Regions from separate parts of the Homo sapiens genome. Here region 1 is linked to region 2. The links are contacts of gene promoters, found by promoter capture Hi-C in human tissues and cell types (Jung and others, 2019). All regions are on one chromosome and are shown on one strand. The core of a region is centred on a gene start or on the middle of the fragment in contact, and the rest is flanking DNA. Distances in the headings are between cores, read along the strand shown.

Region 1 (6,997 bases), core at 1,034-3,533, 170 kb before region 2:
CAAAATACAGCTAAACACCAGACTTTGCCTCTCAGCCTAAGACAAAATAAAAGATTGAAAGCTTCCATATCACCAGCTGTCAATTTTTGAAGATCATATTGCTTAATGCAATAATTTTTTTCTCTGCCCAAACATTACTCAGCCTCCATGATCTCTTGTTAAGACCCAGATGCACACACATTATGTCTGTGAATTCACAAAGACGCGAGACAGCTGGTGGTTATCGGTTTAGTCGATTAATATAGAGAGAATGGTAATGAATGACTACCGTCTCCACCCCTGCCCACTCTTATTTTGAGAGTAAATTGTGCACCCTGGCTTCCTGAAAGAGCACGGATTAACCAGCGCTCCTAACTGTCCTTTGCTTGTTGTTTGTTTGTGAGGTGTTTGTTTGTTTGTTTGTTTGTTTGGAGACTGGATTTCACTTTGTCTTCCAGGCTGGAGTGCAGTGGAGCAATCATAGCTCATTGCAGCCTCAAACTCCTGGGCTCAAGTGATCCTCCTGCCACAGCCTCCCAAGTAGCTAGGACCACGGAAGTGTGCCACCACACCTGGCTAATTAAAAAAAATTTTTTTTTATAGAGACAGGGTCTCTCTATGTTGCCCAGGCTGGTCTCAAACTCCTGGCCTCAAGCAATCCTCTTGCCTCAGCCTCCTGAGTAGCTGGGACTACAGGTGCATGCCCAGCTATTAAAAAAAAAACAAAAAAAAAAACCTTTTTTTTTTTTTTTGAGACAGAGTCTTGCTCTGTTGTCCAGCCTGGAGTGCAATGGCTCGATCTTGGCTCACTGCAACCTCTGTCTGCCGGGTTCAAGCAATCCTTCTGCCTCAGCCTCCCGAGTAGCTGGGACTACAGGCAAGCACCACCATGCCAATCTAGTTTTTTATATTTTTAGTACAGATGGGGTTTCACCATGCTGGCCAGGCTGGTCTCGAACTCCTGACCTCAAGTGATCTGCCTGCCTCGGCCTCCCAAAGTGCTGGGATTACAGGCGTGAGCCACCGTGGCCAACCAAAAACAATCTTTATAGTGATGGGGTCTTGCTATATTGCCCAAGCTGGCCTCAAACTCCTGGACTCAAGCAATCCTCCCAAAGTGTTGGGATTACAGGCGTAAGCCACCACAGCCAGCCTCCTAGTCCCTTCTTAACTTCTCTTAAATCGTCCCTGTTTGATTCTGTTTCCTGCTAGTCCCCTGACGGATACAGCAGGAATTAAAAAATATATATTTAACTTGTACATAAGTGAATGGAAATGAATAAAGAAAACATGTACACAACTTAGCAAAGTAGGATTCAGTTGGGAGCTGGTTCACTTTTCCCTGTTGTTAGTATGCATAATACCACACTTTTCTTTCTTTCTTTTTTTTTTTTTTTTTTGAGACAGCGTCTCGCTTCATCGCCCAGGCTGGAGTGCAGTGCAGTGGCGTGATCTCAGCTCACTGCTACCTCCACCTCCCGGGCTCAAGCAATTCTCTTGCCTCAGCCTCCTGAGTAGCTGGACTACAGGTGCGCCACCACGCCTGGCTGATTTTTTGCATTTTAGTTGAGACGTGATTTCATCATGTTGCCCAGGGTGGTCTTGAACTCCTGAGCTCAGGCGATCCACCCCCCTCGGCCTCTCAAAGTGCTAGGATTACAGGCATGAACCACCACACCCAGCCTAGTATGCATAATACCATAATTTTTTTAAAAAATTTTAAGTTCTGGGATACATGTGCAGAAAGTGCAGGTTTGCTATATAGGTATACATGTGCCATGGTGGTTTGCTGCACCTATCGACCTGTCATCTAGGTTTTAAGCCCCGCATGCATTAGACATCTGTCCTAATGTTCTCTCTCTCCTTGCCCCCCCACCCCCCAACAGGCCCCGGTGTGTGATGTTCCCCTCCCTGTGTCCATGTGTTCTCATTGTTCAACTCCCACTTATGAGGGAGAACATGCGGTGTTTGGTTTTCTGTTCCCGTGTTAGTTTGCTGAGAATGACGGCTTCCAGCTTCATCCATGTCCCTGCAAAGGACATTAACTCATTCTTTCTTTCTTTATTTTTTTTTTGAGATGGAGTTTCTCTCTTGTTGCCCAGGCTGGAGTGCAGTGGTGCCATCTCGGCTCACTGCAACCTCTGCCTCCGAGGTTCAAGTGATTCTCCTGCCTCAGCCTCCCAAGTAGCTGGGATTAATTACATGCATGCACCACTATGCCTGGCTAATTTTGTATTTTTAGTGGAGGCGAGGTTTTAGCATGTTGGTCAGGCTGGTGTCAAACTCCTGACCTCAGGTGATCCACCTGCCTCAGCCTCCCAGAGTGCTGGGATTACAGGGGTGAGCCACTGTGCCCGGCCAAACTCATTCTTTTTTATGGCTGCATAGTATTCCATGGTGGCGTAATACCATAATTCTAATGCATCCCTGATTTAGTTCTTTTTCTGCTAACCTCTAAACACAGGGAGGCAGGCACCAAGCCTGTCTTCCTCCTTTCTCATTCTTTTGACTTCAGGGCCAGGCTGTGTCAATAAAGATGTGTAGAATGAATGAAGGCATTCCTGGCTGATTGTATGCAATGACAACATCTCTTGCTGGGTCTGAGGCCGAAGTCCTTTGCTGTTCTGATCTGAGAGCATTTAGCTCTGAGGATCAAGTGAGAAGCCTCAAAGGCCATGTGCTCAAAGCGTAGAACAGTCTGACCCCTGTTTCCTGCAACAGACAGGGGCGAGTTAAAGGTGATACACTCTCTTGCAAACGGCTCACGGGGTGTCCTGGGAACTCTCATGGGGAGACGTGGAGTTTCTGGTGTGGGTGAAGATTGGGAAAGACATTTGCAAAGTGAGGACCAACAGAGGCCGAGGGCTGGAAAGAACAGGCTTTCATCATTGTCAGGGAACTGTGACAGAGAGAAGCAAGCCCAGGAAACGAGTTGGGTAACCTTCAGCTTCTCCATTACTTTTTTTTTTTTTCTTTGAGACAGAGTCTCGCTCTGTCACCCAGGCTGGAGTGCAGTGGCGCGATCTCGGCTCACTGCGAGCTCCACCTCTCGGGTTCACGCCATTCTCCTGCCTCGGCCTCCTGAGCAGCTGGGACTACAAGTGTCTGCCACACACCTGGCTAATTTTTGTGTATTTTTGGTAGAGACGGGGTTTCACCGTGTTAGCCAGGATGGCTTTTTTTTTTTTTTTTTTTTTTGAGATGGAGTCTCGCTCTGTCACCAGGCTGGAGTGCAGTGGCACAATCTCAGCTCACTGCAACCTCCGCCTCCTGGGTTCAAGAGATTCTCCTGCCTCAGCCTCCCAAGTAGCTGGGATTACAGATGCCCGCCACCACGCCCGGCCAATTTTTCTATTTTTAGTAGAGAGGGGTTTCACCATGTTGGCCAGGGTGGTCTCGAACTCCTGATCTCATAATCCGCCTGCCTCGGCCTCCCAATCTGCATTACTTTTATTAATAACACTTAGCCTTGAAGCATGGATCTGGAGACAGGCATGTGAAGGCATCCAGTTTGCAGAAAGAACTTGGTCAAGTTTGACTTCAACAATTTCTCTTGGAGGAAAAAAAAAAAGCAGCAGCTCTGAACTCCAGTGGGATTTCCTGCACCTTAAATCTTGGGCATCGAGATCGCCTGGGTATGGTCATCACTAAAAGGACAATGGTAGGGTATTGGAAGTAAGTAGCATAGGCCAGATGGGGTGACTAATGCCTGTAATCCCAGCACTTTGGGAGGCCAAGGCTGGTGGATCACCTGAGGTCAGGAGTTCAAGAGCAACCTGGGCAACATGATGAAACCCCATCTCTACTAAAAATACAAAAATTAGCTGGGCATGGTGGCGGGCACCCGTAATCCCAGCTACGTAGGAGGTTGAGGTATTGCTTGAACTGGGAGGTAGAGGTTGCAGTGAGCCGAGATCACGCCATTGCACTCCAACCTGGGTGACAAGAGCAAAACTCTGTCTCAAAATAAATAAACATATAAATAATAAAATGTCTGCTATAGTGTTTGGCACAGAATAGATGCTCAAATTTTGGGGAGCTAGGACTTATCATTCTGGTTCCACTTTGGTATCATTAGTCTGCTCATGGTGTGTTTAGGCCACCTCAAGTCCTCTGGCCAGACTCTTAAAGGAGGCCAGCCTCCATGGGCTCACACCTTGGTGAAGGCGGCATCCCCCACCAGGCATAGGTAAGTATGGACTTCTCCTCCAGGCTAGGCTGTGCTGTGCTAGGCCAGGCAACCCTGACATGCGTGGTATTAGGTGGGGCCGGAAAAAAGGGGCTTAAGAAGGTGATGCAGGGCTGGGTGCAATGTAATCCCAGCACTTTGGGAGGCCGAGGCAGAAGGATCACAGGGTCAAGAGATCGAGACCATCCTGGCCAACATGGTGAAACCCCATGTCTACTAAAAATACAAAAATTAGCTGGGTGTGGTGGCATGTGCCTGTAGTCCCAGCTACTCGGGAGGCTGAGGCAGGAGAATTGCTTGAACTTGGGAGGTGGAGGTTGCAGTGAGCTGAGATCACGCCATTGCATTCCAGCCTGGGTGACAGAGTGAGACTCCGTCTCAAAAAAAAACAAAAAATGATGATACAGAAATCAGGTCCGTAAAGCCCAGTTTCTGCCTTGGGCAGCTTCTAGGTCATGGATGGTGGAGAGATGATAGAAGTGGACACCACGTGACTGGACCCTCACTGTGCATCAGAAAGAGGGAAAGATTGGGAACGACAGCCCAGACCCTTCTGCTTTTCTTTTTTTCTTTTTTTAGATGGAGTCTTGCTCTGTCGCCCAGGCTGGAGTGCAGTGGCGCAATCTCGGCTCACTGCAAGCTCCACCTCCCGGGTTCACACCATTCTCCTGCCTCAGTCTCCTGAGTAGCTGGGACTACAGGCACCCGCCACCACGCCCGGCTAATTTTTTGTATTTTTAGTAGAGACGGGGTTTCGCTGTGTTAGCCAGGATGGTCTCAATCTCCTGACCTCATGATCCGCCCACCTCAGCCTCCCAAAGTGCTGGGATTACAGGCGTGAGCCACTGCACCTGGCCTTCTTTTTCTTTTTTAGAGAAAAAGGTCTTGCTTTGTTGCCCAGGCTGGAGTGCAGTGGTGCGACCATAACTCACTGTACCCTCAAACTCCTGGGCTCAAGGGATCCTCCCATCTCAGCCTCCCAAGTAGCTGGGACTACAGGCACATGCCACCACTCCTGGATAAATTTTTTTTTTTTTAATAGAGATGAGGTCTCACTATGTTGCCTGGGCTTGTTTCAAACTCCTGGCCTCAAGTGATCTGCGGCCTCCCAGAGCACTAGGATTATGGGTGTGAGCCACCGCTCCCAACCTGCTTCTGCTTTTCATTTCCCTTCATTCCCTCCCCCTTGGGTTCTATACTCTCAAGTTCACAGGATCTAGGGACCAAGTCACCCAGTGGCCATTCTCCAGGGCCACCTGGGTGAGCCTCCTGAAATGCTTACCTCTGGCATCTCTCCTTTTTTCCCTTTTTTGAAGACAGTCTCCCTCTGTTGCCCAGGCTGGAGTGCAGTGGTGCAATCTCAACTCACTGCAACCTCCGCCTCCCAGGTTCGAGCGATTCTCCGGCCTCAGCCTCCCGAGTAGCTGGGATTACAGGTGTGCACCACCATACCCAGCTAATTTTTGTATTTTTAGTAGAGACAGGGTCTTGCCATGTTGGCCAGGCTGGTCTCAAACTCCTGGCCTCATGTGATCCACCTGACTCAGCCTCCCAGAGTGGTGGGATTATAGGCGTGAGCCACTGTGCCCCGCCTGGCCTCTCTCCGGCAAGTCTTTCACGCTCCTCGCTATTTTCCCTGGAGTTAAGCTCTAAGCCCCTACTTCCAGTCTCAGCCTCTATCCTTCCATCAGTGCTCCAGCCCTCCAGAATCCTCCCTCCTCCCTGCTCCCCAGACACCATGTACACCAATAGGGCCCCACAGTCCTTTAATGGCCAGCGTCCACCATGACTGGTCAGGGCCCCTCCCTTCTGATTGGACAGTTGTTAAAGCGTTTTCTAACATCCACCCGCATCTGAACGTCCCAGGCACCAGAGTCATCACTGATTCCTTTCTTTGCCCGGGGTTTAATCACTCCATGCAAGGGACGGGCATGTCTTCTGTCCCACTTTGTAAGGGTGCCCAACTCTCCAGGCCAAGGCTATCCTTTGGCCCTCAGAGCACGTCACATGGATTTCATCTCAGAATCGGATGTTGCCTGCAGTCTGTTGGTCTCACTGTGTTTCAGTTATTTTCCAATTTCTTCCACTGACCTGAGCTCCACCTCAGGGCGGAGACCTTGTCATATTTCTCTACAGGCCTGGCACATAGTAGGCATCTAATAAATGTCTTTTTGTTTGTTTGTTTTGAGGCGGACTCTCGCTCTTTCGCCCAAGCTGGAGTGCAGTGGCGCGATCTAGGCTCACTACAACCTCCACCTCCCGGGTTCAAGCTATTCTCTTGTGTCAGCCTCCCGAGTAGCTGGGATCACAGGTACGCGCCACCACACCCAGCTAATTTTTTGTAATTTTAGTAGAGACGGGGTTTCGTCAGGTTGGCCAGGCTGGTCTCGAACTCCTGACCTCAGGTGACCCACCCGCCTCAGCCTCCCAAAATGCCGGGATTACAGCTGTGAGCCACCACGCCCCACCACGTGTAATAAATGTCTGATGAGTGCAGGTAGGAAAAAAGGAGCCGGGCTCCTTCCTCAGTGAAGAGTTAAAGGTCAAGGGTCATGAGGTCTAATCTATCCCTCTGTACAGTTTATTTTCAGGGTCTCCTTTTGTATTTAAGAATGGGTGAGCAGCTGTGGACGGTGGCTCACGCCTGTAATCCCAGCACTTTAGGAGGCTGAGGTGGGAGGATTGCTTGAGCCCAGGAGTTTGAGACCAGCCTGAGCAACATAGCAAGACACCGTCTCTACAAAAAATAAAAAAATTAGCCAGGTGTGGTGGTGTGGGCTTGTAGTCCCTGGTACTTGGGAGGCTGAGGTTGCAATCCTTAAGGAGAAT
Region 2 (6,618 bases), core at 487-2,986:
CCCCTTCTCAAGGCCACTGCACCCTCACACTTCCCGCCCCCCAGGAACAAACATCTCCCAACCATCTCACCCCGGGGTTTTCACGTCTCTACCAGATTTCTCACCGGTTCTTCCTGCCTCCGGTCCTATGAAGGAGGAGGCCAGGGGAGGAAATCCACTCAGACTAATTTGTAAGCCCGGTGTGATTCACCAGCGCCGCTTCCCCTCCTCCGGGCAGGCGGGGGGGCTCTCCGCTTGCTCAGGCCTGTCCCCGGCCTTTGGGAGCCCCTGCCACGGTCCTGGGCGTGCTCCCCGGAGGCAAGAGCCCTTGCTTGCAGAGGCCTCAGGGCAGCAGGAAGCCAGAGGCAGGAAGCAGGAGTTATAGGTCTGCTACCCACTCTGTAAGCCCAGAGCCAGGAGGCCCCAGGGCCAGGCTCACAGACCGGGCATGGAAAGCCTGCACCCTAGCCACTGTCGCGGTCACACAGGCCCCCTTCTGTAGCAGGTCCAGGCGGCTGGGACTGGAATCCAGGCTCCCGTCCCCAGAGCTGGGTTCTCCTTTCCGCCTGGCTTGTTGAACACCTGTGGAACGTGTGGTTTTTCTCCCCGGAGAGGAACGCCAGGACACCAGGAGAGCAGCCCTGTCGGGGAAACTGAGGCACACGGTTTCCTGCTGCAGAAAGCGGGCTGCACAGCATCATGGCTGGACCTGGCCCCAGCTCTGGGAGGAGCACTCAGTCACAGGAGTTTAGGGACATCAGAAATAGCTGTAGTCAGGGATGACTGGGAGGGAGCAGGAGGAGGGGAGAGTTTGGATGAGCAGAACCTTTTGGAAGCTTCCTTCTGGAAACACTAGAAAGAGGGGCTCTTGTCCTGGCCCTCCCTCTCTCTCTCTCTTTTTTTTTTTTTTTTTTTTTGTTTTAGAAATGAGACCTTGATCTGTTGTCCAGGCTGGAGTGCAGTGGTGCAATCACAGCTCATTGAAGCCTCAACCTCCTGGGCTCATGTGATCCTCCCACCTCAGCCTCCTAAGTAGCTGGGCCTGCAGGCATGTGCCACTGATACAGGAGGGGGGACAGGGAAGTGCTGAGAGGAGAAAGGCAGGGTCCCTGGCAAGGGCTCCACCCTTGGGCCTGTGCCCACGGACCTAGGTGAGGACAGGCACTCCTGTTTATATGCCCAAATGTCACATTTTCCAAGACCACCCTGGCCCACCACGCCCCCCGCCCCCCCGCCCATCCTGTGCCTATGAAAACCCTGAGACCCCAGTGGGTACACACACAGGTGGCTGGACATCAAGAGGAGCAGAGGATCGGAAGAGCACACCGACAGCACTGGCAGATGCTGGCAGGCCATCGACTGGCTGAATAACACAAATGCCCAGGGGAATTTGGCTGGGGATGGTCAGAGGAGAGTCTGGCTGCTGAGCACCTTGACTTCAGGGGAAAAATCACCTTCCCACTCCATCCCCCTTCTGGCTCCCCATCATCTGCTGAGAGCTACTTCCACCACTCAATAAAACCTCGCACTCATTCTCCAAGCCCACATGTGATTCAATTTTCACAGTACACCAAGGCAAGAACCCCAGGATACAAAAAGCCCTTTGTCCTTGCAATAAGGCAGAGGGTCTAACTGAGCTGATGAACACAAGCCACCTACAGATGGCAAAAGTAAAAGAGCATCCTGTAACACACGCCCACTGGGGCTTCAGGAGCTGTAAGCATCCACCCCTAGACACTGCCGTGGGGTCGGAGCCCCATAGCCTGCCTGTCTGCATGGTCCGCCTAGAGGTTTGAGCAGCTGGGCATGGAAGAAGCGAGCCACACCCCCATCGCATGCCCTATGAACGGGATAAGGGAACTTTTTCACTTCACCACTATGCCTGACTAATTTTTTAATTAAAAAAAATTTTTTTGTAGAAACAGAGTTTCACCATGTTGCTTAGGCTGGTCTCAAACTCCTGGCCTCAAGTGATCCTCCCTCCTCGGCCTCCCAAAGTGCTGGGATTACAGGTATGAGCCACTGTGCCTGGCCTCTGGCCCCACTTCTTATCTGCCTTGGGTGAGTGACTTAACCCATGCGTGCCTCAGTTTCCTCATCTGGAAAATGGGATATGGATTGAATGTGAGGACACGTGTTTTAAGACATGGCCTGACCTTCTGTGTTGTATATTAGCTGCTCTTCTTATTATTATTATGATATTCCCTTCCCCAAAGGCAGGGGATCAGCTGTACCCGGGGCTGAAGGCCTGAGGCCAGCTCCAGGGACAGTTAAGCTCTCCAGCCCCTGGGGACCCGTGGGCTCACTGCCTGAACCCAGCACTGCCGGCCCTGGCAGCTGTTCAGATATGGCGGGCCCCAGATGGACAGTGGCAGCCTCTGAGGCCGAGCTGGGGCTGCTGGGGCTGCACTAGACACAGGAGGGGCTTTCCAGGGCAGGTGTGGGCTCTGTTTGGCAGATCTACTAGAGAATTCTTGGGCTGGGCCAGGCCTGGTGGGGATGGATGTGTGTGTGTGAGGCCAGGGTGGAATGGAGGTCTCATTTTTCAGTTCTTCCTCATCAGAGTCACCTCCAGTTTTCTGTTTTCTTTTTTTTAAGAGACAATATCTCACTCTGTCGCCCAGGCTGGAGTGCAGTGGCACAATCATAGATCACTGCAGCCTCAAACTCCTGGACTCAAGCAATCCTCCTGCCTCAGCCTCCTGAGTAGGTGGGACTACAAGAGCACACCACCATGCTCGGCTAATTTTTTTGATATTTTGTAGAGATAGGGGTCTCACTATGTTGCCCAGGCTGGTCTTGAACTCCTGGCCTGAAGCGATCCTTCCCTCTTGGCCTCCGAAAGCTCTGGGATTACAGGCGTGAGCCACTGCGCCCACCCCATTTTTCTTTTATTTGTCCTGTTGCTTTCTCTGTTCATTGAGCATTTCAGTGCCCTGAGGGGGTCCCCTGGCCTGGGGGTGCTTAATGGACACCCTGATAATAGGCATATTGGTAGAAGGGGCCCCCGAGGGCCAGGTTGGTGCAGAAACTCTCTCCATAAGCAGACCGGGGGTTTCATACACTCCCCCCTATTCCTATGAGATGGCTGAGCCTCCTAGAGGGTGATGTCCCACCCAGAGTCCCACAGCTCCAGAGGTCCGGCCACACTGCAGTCTGAGTGGGTCCCAGCCAGCATGGGTGGCCCCACCCTGGGCAACACTCCCTGACGGCTCAAGGCCAAGTCTTCCCATTGGGGTAGGCAGCCTCAACTTACTCTGTGTCCTTGGCCAAATGCCCCTTCCTGGGTCTTGGTCCCTTGGCTCTAGAGAAAACAGTTGGCCCAGGGCTCTCGGAGATCCTGGAGGCTTAGGCAGTCCCTGCGTCCGTGGTATTTGCCCACGGATTCCCCCCAACCCTATCCACTCTGAATGGCCCAAGGCAGGTGCCTGGCAGGGAGGTCTCCGTCCTGTCATGGATCACCTTCCACACTGGGCCCGGTGCATGCCAGGGGCCCTGGGAGGACCACTATTTAAGGGCCATCTCTGAGCTATCCCCAGGCCAACTGCAGCTTCAGGGAGCTCTCCAGACCATGGTAGGCTGGGGTTGTTCTGCTCTGCCACGGCTACCTTCCTCTCACCTCCACCTCCTCCCTGGGGAGCTCAGGCCTGTGGCTGTTGTGTCTTTGGCTTCAGCACTGCGGTCCCCTCCCTCCCACCCCTGCCCCTGCCCCTGCCCCTGCCCCTGACCTCACTCCGCAATTCCTTTTCTTTTTTAGACAGAATCTCACTCTGTTGCCCAGGTTGGAGTGCGGTGGCTCGATCTCGGCTCACTGCAACCTCCACCTCCTGGCTTCGAGTGAGGTTCCTGTCTCAGCCTCCCGAGTAACTGGGATTACAGGCGCCCGCCACCACACATGGCTATTTTTTTTTTTTTGTATTTTTGGTAGAGACGGGGTTTCACCATGTTGTCCAGGTTGGTCTCGAACTCCTGACCTCAAGTGATTCACCCGCTTCGGCCTCCCAGAGTGCTGGGATTACAGGCGTGAGCCACAGCGCCCGGCCTCATTTCTCAACTTTGACCTTGTTCTGTGACCTTGACTCTGTGTGTGATTCTGACCTTCACCTCCTGCCTGAATTCATCCTGCCTCTCACTGACCTTCCTGACCTTAATCTGATGTTGTCCCTGGTCTGACCTGCTCTTTGCTCTTGATCCCATGCTTGGACCTGCCCCACTCGGGACTCCTCTCCACGTGGGTCCTGATTTGAGCCTCTGCTTTCCTGGACTTTGTGGGGACTGCTGGGGAATGAGGAAGAGGAGGGTGGAGAGAGACGAGGTGGGCAGGGCCTGGGGGCTTCACAGGGGCAGTGGCTCTGAGGGCAGGGGCCCCCTGGGAGGGCCGGGGGTCAGTATTTGGGGCAGCGTGGCACCTCTGGAGCTCCGAGGTCCCCCTGTTCACCTTTGCCTGTGCACCTCATGTGACGCAGGGCTTGCTCTGGGTTCCTGCCCCTGGGGACTCCCTGCGGGGTATCAATCTGGCTGTCCCTCTGTGCCTGTGTCTCACCTGCCTCATTAGTTAGTCCCTCTCGGCACAGAGCTCTGACTTGGCTGTCAGCCTCGGCTTGTCACCTCCTGACTGCCCGAGGGCCTAGGGGCTTCTCTGTCTTGTCTTCTCAGCGCTTGTCCCTCCTCCGAGTCAGCCTCTATGGACTGCCTGTCACCAGCGGGACTGTGATCTTCTTGGGGACCAAGACGGGGCCTGATTCAGCCCTGGGTCCCCAGGACGGACCTGCCTGGAGGTCCGTAGGTGTCTAATACATGTCCTGATGCTTTGAGGTTGACCTGCTCTAGGTTTTATAAATGGGGAAACAGGCTCAGAGAAGACAAGTGAATTTCTTAACATCACGGAGGCTGGGAGCAGCCAAGCCAGGCTTTGAACCCAGATCCGGGTGACCCCCCCTTCTTCCCTGAGATGTTCCTTTCAGGGGAATTTTATTTTTCAGGGGCCCATTCTCAAAAGGAATTTTCAAGACAGCTGGGCTGCAAAGACCCTAGGGTTTAGGACTCTTGTGCTGTAAAGAAAATGATCTCTCCCTCCCTCGTGGAGCTCTGGGACAGTGTAGGGTGGGGGTGTAACCAGGGGGATCATGAGAGGCTGGGGGCGTGGGGGGCAGGGACTGAGGACGCCGAGGCCACAGCCAGGTGTGCCAGAGAAAGGGCAGAACCTCCCACAGACGGAAGTGATCATTTTTTATTAATCGGAGGAAATGTATATGTAATTATGTGGGATGAACTCTGTGGGGAAGTTCTTTTCTTTATGATGTCTGAAAGGATTTATAAATATTACAGAGGTTTTACAGCATCATAACGTCCCGGCCGCCCTGGCAGCCCCCTTTCAAAGGATTAGGAGAGACAGAGCACCCAGTAAAAGCTAATTATAAGTCAGCCGGCGCTTCTGCCCCTGCCCTCGACGACGCGGGCTCCTGGGCGGGGGTGGGGACAGCAGTGAGCTGGGGGCAGGGGAGACCACACAGGCGTTGGGGGAGGGGAGCAGGGGATGAGGGGACTCCTCTGCTCTGGTGGGGGCAGGTAGACAAGGGCTTGGCAGGAGAGGGTGGTACAAGTTGTGACGGAGACAGGAGCTGGTGGTGGGAACCCATTTCTGTGCCATCCCGTCCACCTCCCCGTCTGGAATCCAGCAATTCTTTTCCCCCATCGAGAGCCCATTCTGGGGCTCACAGCGCCCCTGGGGGCTGTAAGGATGGCTGCCCAGGAACAGGACTCTTGAGGGTCTTGGGGACCTAGGGCTTTCAGCAAATGCCCAATGGTGGACTTCCAGACACCCTGACATCACAGAGGCAGGAAGGCTGGCCAGAAACCATCTGACTACTCAACGTGGGTGGCCTCCTGCTTTGCCTGCTGCGTGGGTTGGCCCTGAGTTCTGGGCAGCTATTTCCAAGCACTGGCTGATCCCCACTTTGAGCCAGGTTCAGGGTGGGGATAGGAGAGATCAGAGATGGGGCAAAGTGGGTTTTACCCCTGAGATGTCCACTTAGTCGAGGACACAGACGCACAGATATGTCAGGACAGTGTGATACATGCTGTAGGGGTGACAGTCCACAGTGGAGCCATGTGGGGAGGGGAGAGTGGCCTGGGGTCAGGGAAGGCTTCTCGGAGGAGGTGACAGGGAGCTGAGCCTGCAGGATGGGTAGGAGTCTCTAGATAGATTCTCCAGGGAAGGCATTCCAAGCAGGGAATTCCAACAGAGCAACGCATTCCAGGCAGGGGCAAACGCTGGGAGGGAAGGCAGCTCTGGGACAGAGTAGAGGGCCTGGGTGAGAGGGAGTAGCAGCTCTGGGACAGGGCAAGAGGCAGATCCTGTGGTGGGGCTAAGAGCGCAGTTGTTCTCCTGAGAACACGAAGAAGGTTTTTAGCAGCTGGCGATAAGGTCAGATTCCAGCTGTAGTGGAGGATGCCGGGGTAGAGATGGGGAGGCTGAAGGAAGAGATGCCCGCCTCTGTTCTGCAGCACGGGCACCGGCTGCCCACCTTCCGGAGCCCGGGGGACAGGGCCAGGAAGCAGCTGTCCAGCTCTGTGGGGGTGCACGCCGTGCAGGCTTCTTGCCATGGGCTGGGAAAACGTCCTGATTACCTGCAAGGC

Evidence for each region. The method cuts DNA at HindIII sites, captures the fragments that hold promoters and counts their contacts. A contact is called where the count stands out against the background at its distance.
Region 1: a contact is called between a fragment that was not itself captured here and the fragment with the promoter of MYL10 in region 2, in 2 of the 25 tissues and cell types used here (IMR-90 fibroblasts and lymphoblastoid cells).

Annotation. Positions count from the first base shown.
Region 1 is chr7:101,792,848-101,799,844 of GRCh38, reverse strand. No RefSeq gene overlaps it. Among named protein-coding and RNA genes, the nearest start is that of CUX1, 21 kb to the left of the region's middle. The HindIII fragment of the contact is 4,862 bases long and covers 1-4,714 here.
Region 2 is chr7:101,624,414-101,631,031 of GRCh38, reverse strand. It overlaps MYL10 (myosin light chain 10), which reads left to right and starts at 1,736. Exons shown (of 8, transcript NM_138403.5): 1 at 1,736-1,991. The coding sequence starts at 1,914. RefSeq lists an enhancer at 6,193-6,618. The HindIII fragment of the contact is 21,528 bases long and covers 361-6,618 here.